Regions from separate parts of the Homo sapiens genome. Here region 2 is linked to region 1. The links are contacts of gene promoters, found by promoter capture Hi-C in blood cells and fetal thymus (Javierre and others, 2016). All regions are on one chromosome and are shown on one strand. Each heading gives the region's core, a stretch centred on a gene start or on the middle of the fragment in contact. The rest is flanking DNA. Distances are from core to core; before and after follow the strand shown.

Region 1 (7,416 bases), core at 3,271-5,770:
TTTTTTAAGATGTAAGAGGGCATATTCACAGTTACGGCAAAATATGACTGAGGATACAAAACACTGAAAATTAAGAGCTACCTACCTGAATTCTGATGGGTTTTTTTTTGTACTCCTATCTCCTAATACCTCAAAATGCATAAAAATCTCAGTTAATGATATGTCATTTTTGTCCCATTATTCAATACAATAAAAGAGAAACTAAATATTTCAGATTTGATTTTTCTGACTTGAGCTAATGATCCTCCTCCCTTTCTTAAACATTTAAAATGTTTGTTAACTGAACAGTCAGTCACTCTTCCACATTTCTAAGCGAAATGTCAACACTCATACTCAATATGACACTACTAGAATGTGAAGCCCAAATTTCATTTTAAATCTCTAATTACCTACCAAGGAAGCTCATTTCCCCAAACAATTCTGTGAACTCCAATGCCAGACTATCCAAGTTTCTGGGGACTTAACAGTATCTGTGCCTTTCACATGTAGGAGTCCTCTCCAGAAATGGCATACCCAACTGTTCTTTTAGTCTCAAGAGTCACATTGTCGGCCAGGGACAGTGGCTCACACCTGTAATCCCAGCACTTTGGGAGACCGAGGTGGGTGGATCACCTGAGGTCAGGAGTTCAAGACCAGCCTGGCCAACATGGTGAAACTCTGCCCTACAAAAATACAAAAATTAGCCAGACGTGATGGTGGGTGCCTGTAATCCCAGCTACTCGGGAGGCTGGGGTGGGAGAATCGCTTGAACTTAGGAGGTGGAAGTTGCAGTGAGCCAAGATCACGCCATTGCACCCCAGCCTGGGTGACAGAGCGAGACTCCATCTCAAAAAAAAAAAAAAAAAAAAAAAGTCACATCCTCATTTTGTTGTCTCTCTCCTGCACCTTCTTAAAATGTGATGGGACTGTAACAAGAGTAACTGTGTTCTGGATACACAACAGACAAGCTACTAGGAAATGCCAAAGATAAAGACCAATCACAGCAATGCTTTAAGAGACCCAGAGTACAAAAGGGGTTCTAAGTGAGCCTCTAAACATAGCATGTTAATAAGCTTAAGTAAACACTGGTAGAGGCCAGCAAATTAAAGCTAGCTGTAACATCTAAAGATATGTCCCAGTCACAGCAGCTCTTTATGTGCAGACCTCAACCTCACATTCTGCTTCAGAAACCTCTCTCAGACAAGCGGCAGAAGAAAGGTCCCCTCCTCGCAGATCACGAGGTCAGGAGATTGAGACCATCCTGGCTAACACGGTGAAATCCCGTCTCTACTAAAAAAAAATACAAAAAATTAGCCGGGCGTGGTGGCGCGTGCCTGCAATCCTAGCTACTCGGGAGACTGAGTCAGGAGAATGGCGTGAACCCGGGAGGCAGAGCTTGCAGTGGGCCGAGATGGCGCCACTGCACTCCAGCCTGGGCGACAGAGCGAGACTCCATCTCAAAAAACAAAAATTAATTAAAAAAAAAAGGTCCCCTCCTCAAAAAGAACAGCATACATGCTACTAATTCATTTGCATTCATAAATCTTTGGTTTAAAAATCCATTTAAGGCCCGGTACAGTGCAGTGGCTCACACCTGTAATCCCAGCACATCGGGAGGCTGAGACAGGTGGATTGCTTTGAGGTCAGGAGTTTGAGACGAGCCTGGGCAACCTGGCAAAACTGTCTCTACAAAAAAATACAAAAATTAGCCAGGCATTGGTGGCGCATGCCTGTAATCCCAGCTGCTCGGGAGGCTGAGGCAGGAGAATCGCTTGAACCTGGGAGGAGGAGGTTGTAGTGAGCTGAGATCGTGCCATTGCACTCCAGCCTGGGCAACAAGAGCCAAACTGTCTCAAAACAAAAATAAGTAAACCCTGATAAAGTGTTTTTTTCCATCAGGCAGTCATACTTTGATACAAATTGGTTTAATGAGGCCCAGCCTTCTTGCTAGAGATACCAAAACCACTGTGGGAAATGTTTTGACTGGATAAAACACTCTTCAGTGAGGTGCTATAGTGAAGATTTCTACAGAGAGCAATGGGAATCAGTACCTAGGGGTCAAGGAAGAAGCACTTGGCTGGGCACGGTGGCTCATGCCTATAATCCCAGCACTCTGGGAGCCCAAGGCAGGAGGATCACCAGAGCCTAGGAGTTCGAGACCAGCCTGGGCAATATAGTGAGACCCTGTCTCCACAAAAAATTTAAAAAATTAGCCAAGCATGATGATGTGCACCTCTGGTCCCAGCTATTGTGGAGGCTGAGGTGGGAAGATTGCTTGAGCCCAGGAAGTGGAAGTTGCAATGAGCCGAGATCATACCACTGCACTCCAGCCTGGGTGATAGAGCAAGACCTTGTCTCAAAAAAAAAAAAAAAAAAAAAAAGGCCAGGCGCAGTGGCTCACGCCTGTAATCCCAGCACTTTGGGAGGCCGAGGCAGGCAGATCACCTGACCTCGGGAGTTCGAGACCAGCCTGACCAACATGGAGAAACCCCATCTCTACTAAAAAAATACAAAATTAGCCGGTTGTGGTGGTTCATGCCTGTAATCCCAGCTACTTGGGGGGCTGAGGCAGGAGAAATGCTTGAATCTGGGAGGCGGAGGTTGCAGTGAGCCGAGATCACGCCATTGCACTCCAGCCTGGGCAATAAGAGTGAAACTCTGTCTTAAAAAAAAAAAAAAGGGAAAAAGCACTACCAAAAATAAATGAAGAACGTGGTAGGAAAAGTTTACCATCGAGTTTGCTAAAGGCTCTGGAAGCCACAAATGCCAGAGACTACTGTGACACCTTTAACTGGGTCTCTTTCAAACTGGGAGAGGATTAGCTTAATAGCTGAACACTGTTTTCGGGTCAATGAACTTGGAATTATTTGTTCTGCTTCAGCTCACTGAAAATCTTTCAGATAAAGGATAATAAATGTTTTGATTTTAAAACAAATTTTAAGGGGAAAGCTATTTTTAGCAAAAACACAATTAAAAAACACACATATTTTGTTGTTTCAGGCTTATCCAGAATAGTCTTAATCCATTCAGCAGCAGAAAGCCCCCTATAAGTCAGTTCCCTTGGAACCTCCTCCATTACAAATAAATCCAAAATTATGGTTGGTAGATCCTATGAAGTCCTAGGTCCACTTCAGGTGATGACAACTGAGAGAAGCAGCAGTTCCATTTTCACAGAGCATGACACACACAAATAAAGCATATTTACAGTGCTACTTTTCCAGCTCAGGAAAACTCACACACAGTATTAGACATCAATTTCCTTGCCTATAAACCATGGCTAAGGATGCCTCTCTAATTCCTTGGAACAGGGAGGAGTTACAATCACAGGTGGCTTTGACACGCGTGTAATCTCCGTCATCATTTCCTAACTGTTCTTTAAAAGCTTGTAATTTTCTTTCAATTTTCAGCTTTGGGGGCTCACACTGACGCTTAGACTTCATAAACTTCCTTCCTAGATATATAACATGCTAATTCATGCGAATCGCTCAAGCTTGTTTTATAATCACACCTATGGATACCTTTGCAAGACTTCACGCCTCTACTCCAACAATAAACTACTAAAACCTCTGGAAACAATCTAGAACTTGCACTTGAGCAGACAAGAGAAAGGAAGTGATGGCTTTAAAGGGACGCAGCTTTGTCGGGCTCAAAAGAGGAGCCCTCGCTCACTCTTGAGCGGCTCAAGATGTTACCAGAAGCTCCCGCCAGATGTGCGGGGCGGGGGTGCGGGCACAGGTAAGGCAGAGAAGATGGGTGGACGGCCCTGGGAAGAACTAGGGTGCCGAAGCCTGCAGGCGGGATGGAGTGGAAGGAGGTGAGGCAAAATTAGGCAAGTACAGGAAGGAGCCAGTGCAGCGAAGAAAACAGGGCAGGCGAGAAGTAGAGCCCTAGAGGAACCAACGAATTCGGGACTCGGAGGGTTTCCGAGGGTCCAGTTCTCTCACCAGAAAGCCGCGTTCAGCCCCAGGCACCACAGAGCGCTCCTAGCTGGCCGCTCCCACACCAGGGCTGCCTGCACCCGACTCAGCAGAGGCTCGTAAGGCCCCAGCACCTCCACCAGGGCCCGCTGCGCCGCCTCAACCTGCTGGTCCCGCTCCCAGGAGCCTGACACATCTCGGCGGCCCCTGAAAGTCGACCCCGAAGCCGGGCCTGGGGTCGTGGGAACCCCTTCGGCCTCAGCCATCTCCCCGCGGCAGCCACAACATCCGGGGCCGTGGCCCGACAAGTCACAATAACAGCAACTGCGCAGATGCGCGATTCGGCGGGGGAGGTGGCTTCGCACCACAGCGCGCTTGCGCGCAGGCCCAAGCAGGCGCCCACCCAGAGGGGAGGGAGGACGCCGTACCCCGCCCTCACTGAGGCGCGGAGCCGGATCCGGAGGCGCCGAGCCGCATCCGGAGCCGCGCACGCGCAATCTGCATGAACGAAGGCCAGTGCTTAAAGACGTGCCATTCATTGCCAGAACTCGATTCTCATTGGAGCGGAGGAAGTTCGTGGGTGGAGCTGGTTGTTTGGCGCCTGCGTCTTGCGGCGAGCGGGCTGGCGTGCGGCGCCGTTGCGGGCGGGAGCGGCTGCAACGCCGGTGCCTGAGGAGCGATGCCGAGGGAAATCATCACCCTACAGTTGGGCCAGTGCGGCAATCAGAGTGAGCGAAACTCCGGCCCCTCAGCTAGCCAGGTTCCTTAGGGTCAATGGGATCTCGCTGTGGGATCCTGGACTCCATCTGTCCTTGCCAGAATCGTAGTTCTCTGAAAGGCGAGACATCCCTGACCCAGTGTCCACTTGCCCAACCCCGAGGGGCCCTCCCCTGCCCAGTCCCTGGCGTACAGTCCTTTCCTCAGACACGGGAGAGTCCTGCGGCTTGACTTCTTATCCCTGGACGCAGGCGCCCAGTCCCCCGGCTCCTGATTGGAACCTGCCCGGACCTAGATATCTTCTTTCTCCCCTGCCCGCCCCTTCCCCCCAGTTGGGTTCGAGTTCTGGAAACAGCTGTGCGCCGAGCATGGTATCAGCCCCGAGGGCATCGTGGAGGAGTTCGCCACCGAGGGCACTGACCGCAAGGACGTCTTTTTCTACCAGGTGCCCCCAGCGACTTGGCCGGGGGCGGCAGTTGCCCAAGGGGGCGGAAGGGAAGGGAGTGGCCTGGTACTGGGAACCCCGCTGGGCAGTAGGGCCAGGCGGCTGGCTTGAGGAGGGAGGGCCGGAGGGAGCCAGAGTTGGGAGGACTTCGGACTTGGGCCGCCCTAGCTGATTGGGCCCCCTCCTGGACTCCCCTTGACAGGCAGACGATGAGCACTACATCCCCCGGGCCGTGCTGCTGGACTTGGAACCCCGGGTGATCCACTCCATCCTCAACTCCCCCTATGCCAAGCTCTACAACCCAGAGAACATCTACCTGTCGGAACATGGAGGAGGAGCTGGCAACAACTGGGCCAGCGGATTCTCCCAGGTCGTTTCCTATTCCCTGGCAGGGCCCACAACTCGCTGGGTAGGGACAGGCTCTATGACGTCCCGAAGAGAGGGAAAACCGGATCAGGGATGTATGAATGCTGGAGGGAGAGACCTGGCTGCAGGGAGTGGACTATGTAATATTGTCAAGCGCCTACACTAGCTAATGCAGTGTGCCAGGTCATTCTAAGTGCTTTACATATATTAATTTTTCTAAATCTCCCAACAACCCTAGAAGTAAGTACTACAGGTCCACAGTCCCTTATCTGCCTTTCCAGGATCCAGAAAGCCATGAAACCAAAGGACATTTCATAACTAGTTTATCAGCAAAAACAAATTTCAATGAAGACAGGCTGTTTTATAGTTTCTTTTTTTTAATTTTTATTTATTTATTTTTTTTGAGACGGAGTCTCACTCTGTCGCCCAGGCTGGAGTGCAGTGGCACGCTCTCAGCTCACTGCAACCTCTGCTGCCCGGGTTCAAGCGATTCTCCTGCCTCAGCCTCCCGAGTAGCTGGGATTACAGGTGCTTGCCATCACGCCTGGCTAATTTTTGTATTTTTAGTAGAGACGGGGTTTTACTGTGTTAGCCAGGGTGGTCTTGATCTCCTGACCTCGTGATCCACCTGCCTCGGCCTCCCAAAGTGCTGGGATTGCAGGCGTGAACCGCCATGCCCGGCCCTATAGTTTCTATCCAACTTACTGTCATTAGTGATGCCTTTTATTACAGAAATACTAATATATTTGATTAACGTGCTTCTGATTAAATAAAAATTCCCACTGGAATTTTATTTAATATATAGTATATATACCATAATACCTTTCTAAAATCTGAAATATTTTGAATTCCAAAACATAACTGGCCCCAACACTGTTAGATAAGGGTATATGGACCTGTATTATTACCTTCATTGTACAGATGAGGAAACTGAGGCATAGAGCAATTAAATAAGCTGCCCAGAGCTACATAGAAGTAGAGTTAATGGGCCAGGCGTGGTGGCTCACGCCTGTAATCCTAGCACTTTGGGAGGCCAAGGCAGGCAGATCACCTGAGGTCAGGAGTTCAAGACCAGCCTAGCCAACATGGTGAAACTCTGATTCTACTAAAAATACAAAAAATAGCTGGGCATGGTGGCATGCGCCTATAATCCCAGCTACTGGGGAGGCTGAGGCAGGAGAATCGCTTGAACCCAGGAGACGGAGGTTGCCATGAGCCAAGATCGCGCCACTGCACTCCAGCCTGGGAGAAAGAGAGAGACTCCATCGCAAAAAAAAATAGAGCTAATGTATGAACCCAGGTAGTCTGGGTGTAGAGTGCTTTCTTGTAACCACTGCACCGTACTGCCTCTCAATGTAGATAAAAGCAGGTAGCTATGCTCCATAAAAGGACTTCTGGGTGTTATAAGGAGAATTGAGGGTGGCTTTTCTGAGGTCAGAGACCTCCCATGGTTCTGTCCCACTCTGACCCTCCCCTATGTCTGTACAGGGAGAAAAGATCCATGAGGACATTTTTGACATCATAGACCGGGAGGCAGATGGTAGTGACAGTCTAGAGGTAAGTGTCCCAGGAATGCTGGTAGGAGCCGACATGGGCAAGGCTTGGCAGCACCCTCTAGAAGCGACCTGTTAGGAACAAGACCCACTCATGTACCCTTTGCACTGGACAGAAGCTATCAGGCCTTGCCAGAAACAAGGCAGTTGCCTAAGCTGTATAAGTGAGGGGACTGGATGGGAAGCAAGGGCTCGGGAAAATGGGAGTCCTAAAAAACTATGAGATGGGTCTAGTTTGACATCCTGCCACTAGATACCTGTACACTGACTGCCCCTTCCCCATGCAGGGCTTTGTGCTGTGTCACTCCATTGCTGGGGGGACAGGCTCTGGACTGGGTTCCTACCTCTTAGAACGGCTGAATGACAGGTAAGTTTGTGTTTGGGGATTAGGAAAGGTCTCCAACTTGGCTTCCTAAATGACTAGGGGACCCAGCAGATA
Region 2 (7,416 bases), core at 2,540-5,039, 220 kb after region 1:
GCTGGTGTGGCTAGAAGATGGGCAACGAAAAGAGATACAGAAAATGGGGTGAGGGAGGTAAGAGTGTTGAGCTACCACCTAGGCTCTTATAGGGATTGTAAAGCTCTGGCTTTCACTTTGAATGAGATGAGATGACTGGGTCTTGAGCAGAGGGACTTACTTCATTTTTAAAAACAACTTTATGGGGTATAATTTACATACCATAAGACTCACACTTTTTAAATGTACAGTTCAATAATTTTTAGTAAATTTACACAGTTGCCCAACTATCACCATAATCCAGTTTTAGAACATTTCCCATCTCCCCTTGCAATCCCCCACTGTGGCCTCCCAAAGTGCTGAGATTACAGGTGTGAGCCAATGTGCCTGGCCAAAAGTTTTTCATTTCAATAAAGTCCAATGTTTATGCTTTTGGTGTAAAAGAAACCACTGCTTAACCCAAAATTGTATGTAGTATTGTCTATTTTATTTTTATTTTGAGACAGTGTCTTACTCTGTTACCCAGGCTGGAGTGAAGCGGAACAAACAAACATGGCTCACTGCAGATTTGACTTCCTGGCTCAAGCAATCCTCTTGCTTCAACCTCCAGTGTAGCAGGGACCACAGGTGATCACTACCATGCCCAGCTAATTTTTAAAATTTTTTGTAGAGATGTGGTCTCACACTGCACTCCAGCCTCGGTGACAGAGCGAGACGCCATCTCAAAAAAAAAAAGAGATGGGGTCTCACTTTGTTGCCCAGGCTTCTGCTTTTTAAATTTAACATTTTTCTATGTTGCTACACAGTTATTGTAGTTATCATGGCTACATTACACTACACTAAATGTACTGCCTTAGTGTATTTTTTTACCGCTGGAAATTCTACTATTTCCCCTGTGGGTGATTACAATAATCCTGCAATGAAGAGCTGGCTACTTATGATAGAGACTCATAACTGGGACTACAGAATTAAGAGTGTGTCAGCTATTTAATGTCTCTTCCTTAACACTGGGAATCATTTTCCAAAGTGCTTGCACATAACTATATTCTGCTTCCAGTAATGTATGAGGAAGCCTGTTTTCATATTGCCTTGGCCAGTATTGGGTATCATATATTTGGGGAACAAAAGCAAAAAATGGCACTTCCTTGTTATTTTAATTAGCATCATTGATTGCTGGTAAGGCTGAACTTTTTGCTATGTATTTGCTTATTGTAGTTACTTTTTTTTTTTTTTTTGAGATGGAGTCTTGCTCTGTTGCCCAGGCTGGAGTGCAGTGGTGCCATCTCGGCTCACTGCAACCTCTGCCTCCTGGGTTCACGCCATTCTCCTGTCTCAGCCTCCCGAGTAGCTGGGACTACAGGCGCCCACCACTACACCCGGCTAATTTTTTATATTTTTAGTGGAGACGGTTTCACCATGTTAGCCAGGATGGTCTCAATCTCCTGACCTCCTGATCTGCCCGCCTTGGCCTCCCAAAGTGCTGGGATTACAGGTGTGAGCCACCATGCCCGGCCTTTTTTTAAAAAAAAAAAAAAAAAGAGACACGGTCTCACTCTGTCACCCAGGCTGGAGTGCAGTGGTGCAATATCAGCTCACTGGAATCTCCGCCTCCCGGGCTCAAGCAGTAGTTACTTTTTTCTGAATTATGTTTGCATTCTTTGATTATTTAGGTATTGGATTATTAGTATTTTTCTCAGTATTTTTAGTAATTTTTCATGAATGCTTTAATTATTTTCCAGATGTTCAGGAAGTTTTAAATTTTCAAGTCAAATCTGCTTATTTTTCTTGATGACTTATACTGCTTAGAAAGTTATTCCCACCTCCAGAAGTGTCTTTCTTTTCTTTTAAATGTATGTGGTTTCTTATAGTTGGTATTGGATGTGATATGTGGAACTAGATTGATTTTTCTCCCGGTTTTGTGACTAGGGATAGTGTTTACAATCCTTCTTCCTCTTGGCTCTTTCAGCATGAAAGCCCCTTTAGGGGAGGTGACTGGAATCATCCCCAAAGAATTCTCACCTAGTCCTGGTGTGGCTGCTTCATAGTCCTGCGTTTCTTCCTGCTTGGCTGTCCCTAACATCTCAGAAACGCATAGAGAAGTAACGGGCTTCTAGAGAGGTAGGGGGTATAGTGTTACAACTGAGGATTTGGAAGTTGAGACCACCTGGTTCTTTACCATCCACTAACCATGTGACCTTATGCAATTTATTCAACTGTTCTGTGCTTTGTTTTCTTATTTACAAAATGAGATTAATAGTATACAGTAGTAAATATCATAAAGGGTAGTGTGATAAATGAGCTGATACATTTGGAATGGAGGGGAATGACTGTTACATAGTGAATGCTCTGTGTATCCTCACACTTGGGAAGTATATGTAATCAGTGTATGTAGTGCTTGAGGGATTGTGAATAATACACAACATATCCTCAGTCATCGATTCAACAGATGTTTATTGAGCATCTACTATGTGCCAGTCCCTATTCTAGGTCTGAGAGGATATACTGGTGAACTGCTCTAATAGTTTATATTCCAGAGGAGAGAATTTGACAGTAAACATGTAACCAAGTTAATAAGATAATTTCAGATAATGGCAGATATTATGGGTTGAATGATGTCCCCCAAAAGATGTTGAAGTCCTAACATCTGGGACTAACACATGGGAATGTGACCTTTTTTGGAAATAGGATCGTTGCAGATGAGGTCATTGATGTTAGCCCTAGACCAATATGACTGCGTCCTTATAAATAGGGGCAATCTGGACACAGAGACAGACATGTACCGTGTCTGAGGGAAGATGATGTAAAGAGACACAGGGTGATCTGTAAGCCAAGGAAGACCTGAGGCTACCAAAAGCCAGGAAAGAGGTCTGGAACAGATACTTCTCTGGCTCCCTTAGAAGGAACATGGTCCTGCTGACACCTTAATTTTGGATTTCTGGCATCCAGAACTCTGAGACAATATATTTCTTTGGTTCTAAGCCATCCACTTTGTGGTACTTTGCTACAGCAGCCCTAGAAAGCTAATACAGTAGGTAAGAAGGTGATGTGATAGAGAGTAAGTGGGGGCAGGGTGGGAGGAGCTGCTTCAACTGGGGGATTCAGGAAGGCCTATGTTATCTGGAAACCACTGAGGGTGGTAAGTAGGGAAGAGACTTGACTGGCTGACTTAAAAAGAAACTATTTACGGGGGGATAGAATACATAGGGGAAAAGACACAAATCATACATGTATTTTCAATGAATTTTTACAAAATGAACACGTCAATGTAACCAGTACCCAACTCCCTCTCCCATGCCACCCTCTAATTGATGCCCACCCTAAGGGCAAACAATATTGTCAATTCTAACACCCTAGATTGAGTTTTGACTGTTTTTTGAATTTCATGTAAATGGAATCATACATGACATACTCTTGTTTCCTTTCGCTCATCATGAGATTCACCCACCTTGTGTAGTTTTAGTTCATACATTCTCAATACTTTGTAGTATTCCATTGTGTGACTATATTAAAATATAGATATCTCTCTTGCTGTTAAGAGGCATCTGGGTAGTTTCCAGTTTGGTCTATTGTGAATAGTGTTGCTATGAACATTCTTGTTCATGTCTTTTGGTGAATATATTTATGCATTTCTCTTGGGTGGGTCCCTAGAGTTGAGGTTTCTGGGATCTCTCTCTCTCTCTTTCTCTTTCTCTCTCTCTCTTTAGGTATATTCAGCTTGAGTAGATGCTACCATCTCTGTGGCTGACATATTAGCAGATTATTTTGAGCTGGCCTGGTGTGCACCTGTAATCCCAGCTCCTCAGGAGGCTGAGGCGGGAGGATCACTTGAGCCAGGAGTTCGAGACCAACTTGGACAACATAGCAAGACCCTGTCTCAGTCAGTCAATCAATCAATGATAAATTTTGGTGCTGAGTGAAGAACAGAATGTGACAGTTGGTGGGGGGTGGCAAGAGTGGAAATGGAGAGACCAGATAGGAGCCTATTGTAATAGTCCTAGCAAAGGATGACAGTGGCTTTGGCCAGGGTAACAAGAGATGGAGGAAAGCACACTCATACAGGATGCATTATACAGGGAAAGCTGACAGGACCTGCTGATGGGTTGAATGTGGAGAGACGAGGAAAAGAGAGGAATCAAGGTTGACTGTTAGGTTTTTGGTTTGAACAACTAGGTGGACAGTTATGTCAATTACTGAGATGGAGAAGAATAGGAAAATAACAGGTGTGTGGGAGAATCAAGAATTCTGGTTTGGCCATGTTAAGTTTGATATGCTCATTAGGTTTCCAAGTAGAAACATCAAATAGATGGTTAGAACTCAGTGAAGATGTCAGATGGGAGATACGAATCTGGGGCCCTCAAATCAGCATACAGATTTTTTTTTTTTTTTTTTTTTTTGAGATGGAGTTTCGCTCTTGTTGCCCAGGCTGGAGTGCAATGGCGCGATCTCGGCTCACCGCAACCTCCACCTCCCCAGTTCAAGTGATTCTCCTGCCTCAGCCTCCCGAGTAGCTGGGATTACAGGCATGTACCACCACGCCCAGCTAATTTTGTATTTTTAGTAGAGACGGGGTTTCTCCATGTTCAGGCTAGTCTCGAACTCCCAACCTCAGGTGATCTGCCTGCCTTGGCCTCTCAAAGTGCTGGGATTACAGGCATTAGCCCCCGTGCGTGTCTGGCCGAATACAGATGATACTTAAAGCTATGAACATGCATAGATCCTCTTTTTTTTTTTTTTTTTTTTGAGACGGAGTCTCGCTCTGTCGCCCAGGCTGGAGTGCAGTGGCGCGATCTCAGCTCACTGCAAGCTCTGCCTCCCAGGTTCACGCCATTCTCCTGCCTCAGCCTCCTGAGTAGCTGGGACTACAGGCGCCCGCCACCACGCCCGGCTAATTTTTTGTATTTTTGGTAGAGACGGGGTTTCACCGTGTTAGCCAGGATGGTCTCTATCTCCTGACCTCGTGATCCACCCGCCTCGGCCTCCCAAAGTGCTGGGATTACAGGCGTGAGCCACCGCGCCTGGCCGAACATGCATAGATCCTCTTAGGGAGAAAGTGTAAGCAGAGAATAAAGGACCTAAGTCTCCTGAAGCATGCCACCATTAAGAAGTGGAGCAGAGGAGGAAGAGCCAGCAAAGGAAATGGGGAATCACTGTTGAGGCTGGAGAAAGATCAGAACAGGTTGCTGTGTGTATTTTAAGAAGGGGAGTGGCTAATATATTGAGTACTACTGAGAGATTCAAATAAGATGAGAGGTGACCACTGGTGTCAACATGGTAGTCATTGGTAACCTAACAAAAATTATATCAGTGAGAAAGTGGGGTTGAGAAGTCTGATTAGAGTGGATTGGAGTAAATGGGGCATGAGGAAGTAGAGTAAGAGACAATAAATAATTCAAGAAGTCTTGCCAGGAAGGAGAGCACAGAAAGGGAGTAACAGCTACAGAGGAATCTGGATTCGGGGGGGAGTTTTCTCAAGATAGGGGATATTGGTTATGTCTGGAAATGACCCAGCAGAGGATGTGATGTAGGAAAAAGAGGGGCTAATCATGGGCACAGACATGGGATTGAGAAAGTCAAAGGGGATGGAATCCAAAGCACAAAAGGAAGAGATAGGAACAGGTTTGTTTCCTTCAATGAAAGAGGAAAGGCAGAAAGTATTTTGCAGATTGGCAGATTTGGTGGTGAGATGATGAGGTAGTTCTCATCTGCTTCTGTTTTCTCAATAAAGAATGAGCCCAGGCCATAAGTTGGAGGTGGGAGAGAAGGAATACTGGAGGTTCAGGGAGATGAGAAAGTATGATAGTCATTGGGAGGGTGGGAGAGCAAACTTGTCAGGAGCATGTAGTAGGAGCTCAGGCAGTGTTGTGCACTCATTTGAGATTTTGGGACATGAATTTAAAATTAGACCAGTCATCAGTGATCACATGTGACTTGTAAGCACCCAGAAATGAATAGTTATTGTTAAGTGTAGTGGTACTCTCCAGTTGTTCACTGAATAAACAAATGAATGGAGTATTATATTAAACACTTGGATGGGGAGGAGGAAGGGAAATAAAGAGAATGTGTATCTGTCTTATAACCTACTTGAAGGAGACAAAACATAATTATTTGAGAACAAAGCATATTTTAACAGGCACAAACATATTAGCTTTTCCAGTTGATGTTATAAATTCTGACTGGAATAAGAATAGTGGCATACTTAAAATAGAATGGAGTAAATGTGGGAAATAATTCCTGAAGTTTCAAATCGGATCTCAAAAGTTCCCAGGGAAATGTGTTAACAGAAAACATGTAAAAGGGGGAAAACTGATAGAGCATGATGTTATATGTGGCCTTCTATAAGCTGAAAAGGACTTTGAGCTTGAAAGCAGGAATGGAAATAATTACTGTAATTTAAGGAGTAACCTCTTCATGCTAAGCATTAACAGATCACTTACTTACCTGACAGTGGCTACTATTTATTTTGTGTCTAAGCACTGTGCTAATTGTTTTACATATATTATTTCTAATATTCACAACACTACAAAATTACATACTATTATTTATTACTAATTATTAAAATTCCATCTTACAGATGAGGGAATCGAGACTCAGCATTTCAATAATTTGCCCAAGATTCCAGTTAGTAAGGAGCTGAGGTGGGATTTGAAGCCCAGGTCTCTGATCCCAAAGGCCATAGTCAGTCTTCTGTGCTTTACTCCATTTAATTGTGTATTCCCCTCATTTTCCTAGCACTTAGTAGAGAGGCCAGCCTAGGATAAATGTTCAACAGCAAGAGCGACCCCAAAATACAAATCTGATGACCTCCTTTTGCACTTAATCTAGATTGTTTACTAACAACCCTCCTCACCCTCAGCTCACTAGTCTTTGTCTTCAAGACAATCTCTTTCCTTCCCTAGAGCATTTGCCTGAGCTGCCCTTATACCTCTCAAGGCTCTTCTCACTCTTTCCATGCTAACCTCTTTATATCCTTTAGATCACAGCTTGCCTGTTCAGAGGCCTTCCTTGGCCATTCGATCTAAAATAGATCTCTCGTATTTTCTATGTCATCCACTTTTTCCCTAACATTTATCAAATTTTGCAGTTACCTTGTCAGTTTACTTTCTGGTGTTTTTCCAATATTATGCCCCATGGGACCAGCGACCTTGAATCTTGTTTGCCTTTGATTTCCCAGAGCTGTGCTCTTCAATACAGAAGCCAGCAGCCACATGTGGCTACTGAGCACTGTACTACAAATGTGGTGTTGCCTTATTGAGATGTGCAGTTAAGTGTAAAATACGCACTGGATTTTGAAGACTTGGTATGAGAAAAGAATGCATAAGATCTCGATTTTTAAATGTTGATTACATGTTGAAATACTTGTATAAACTGGGTTAAATGTATGACTAAAATTTTCACTTGTTTTACTTTTTAATTGTGGCTACTAGAAGATTTCAACCT

Evidence for each region. The method cuts DNA at HindIII sites, captures the fragments that hold promoters and counts their contacts. A CHiCAGO score of 5 or more calls a contact.
Region 2: a fragment that was not itself captured here is called in contact with the fragment with the promoter of TUBG1 in region 1 in 1 of 17 cell types (endothelial precursors); the score reaches 5.0 in endothelial precursors.

Annotation. Positions count from the first base shown.
Region 1 is chr17:42,605,163-42,612,578 of GRCh38, forward strand. TUBG1 (tubulin gamma 1) reads left to right here and starts at 4,521. Exons shown (of 11, transcript NM_001070.5): 1 at 4,521-4,624; 2 at 4,946-5,058; 3 at 5,261-5,428; 4 at 6,913-6,981; 5 at 7,265-7,344. The coding sequence starts at 4,576. It overlaps RETREG3 (reticulophagy regulator family member 3), which reads right to left and starts at 4,212. Exons shown (of 9, transcript NM_178126.4): 1 at 3,924-4,212. The coding sequence starts at 4,162. RefSeq lists an enhancer at 4,094-4,203. The HindIII fragment of the contact is 4,939 bases long and covers 3,468-7,416 here.
Region 2 is chr17:42,825,253-42,832,668 of GRCh38, forward strand. No RefSeq gene overlaps it. Among named protein-coding and RNA genes, the nearest start is that of PSME3, 4.4 kb to the right of the region's middle. The HindIII fragment of the contact is 7,795 bases long and covers 1-7,416 here.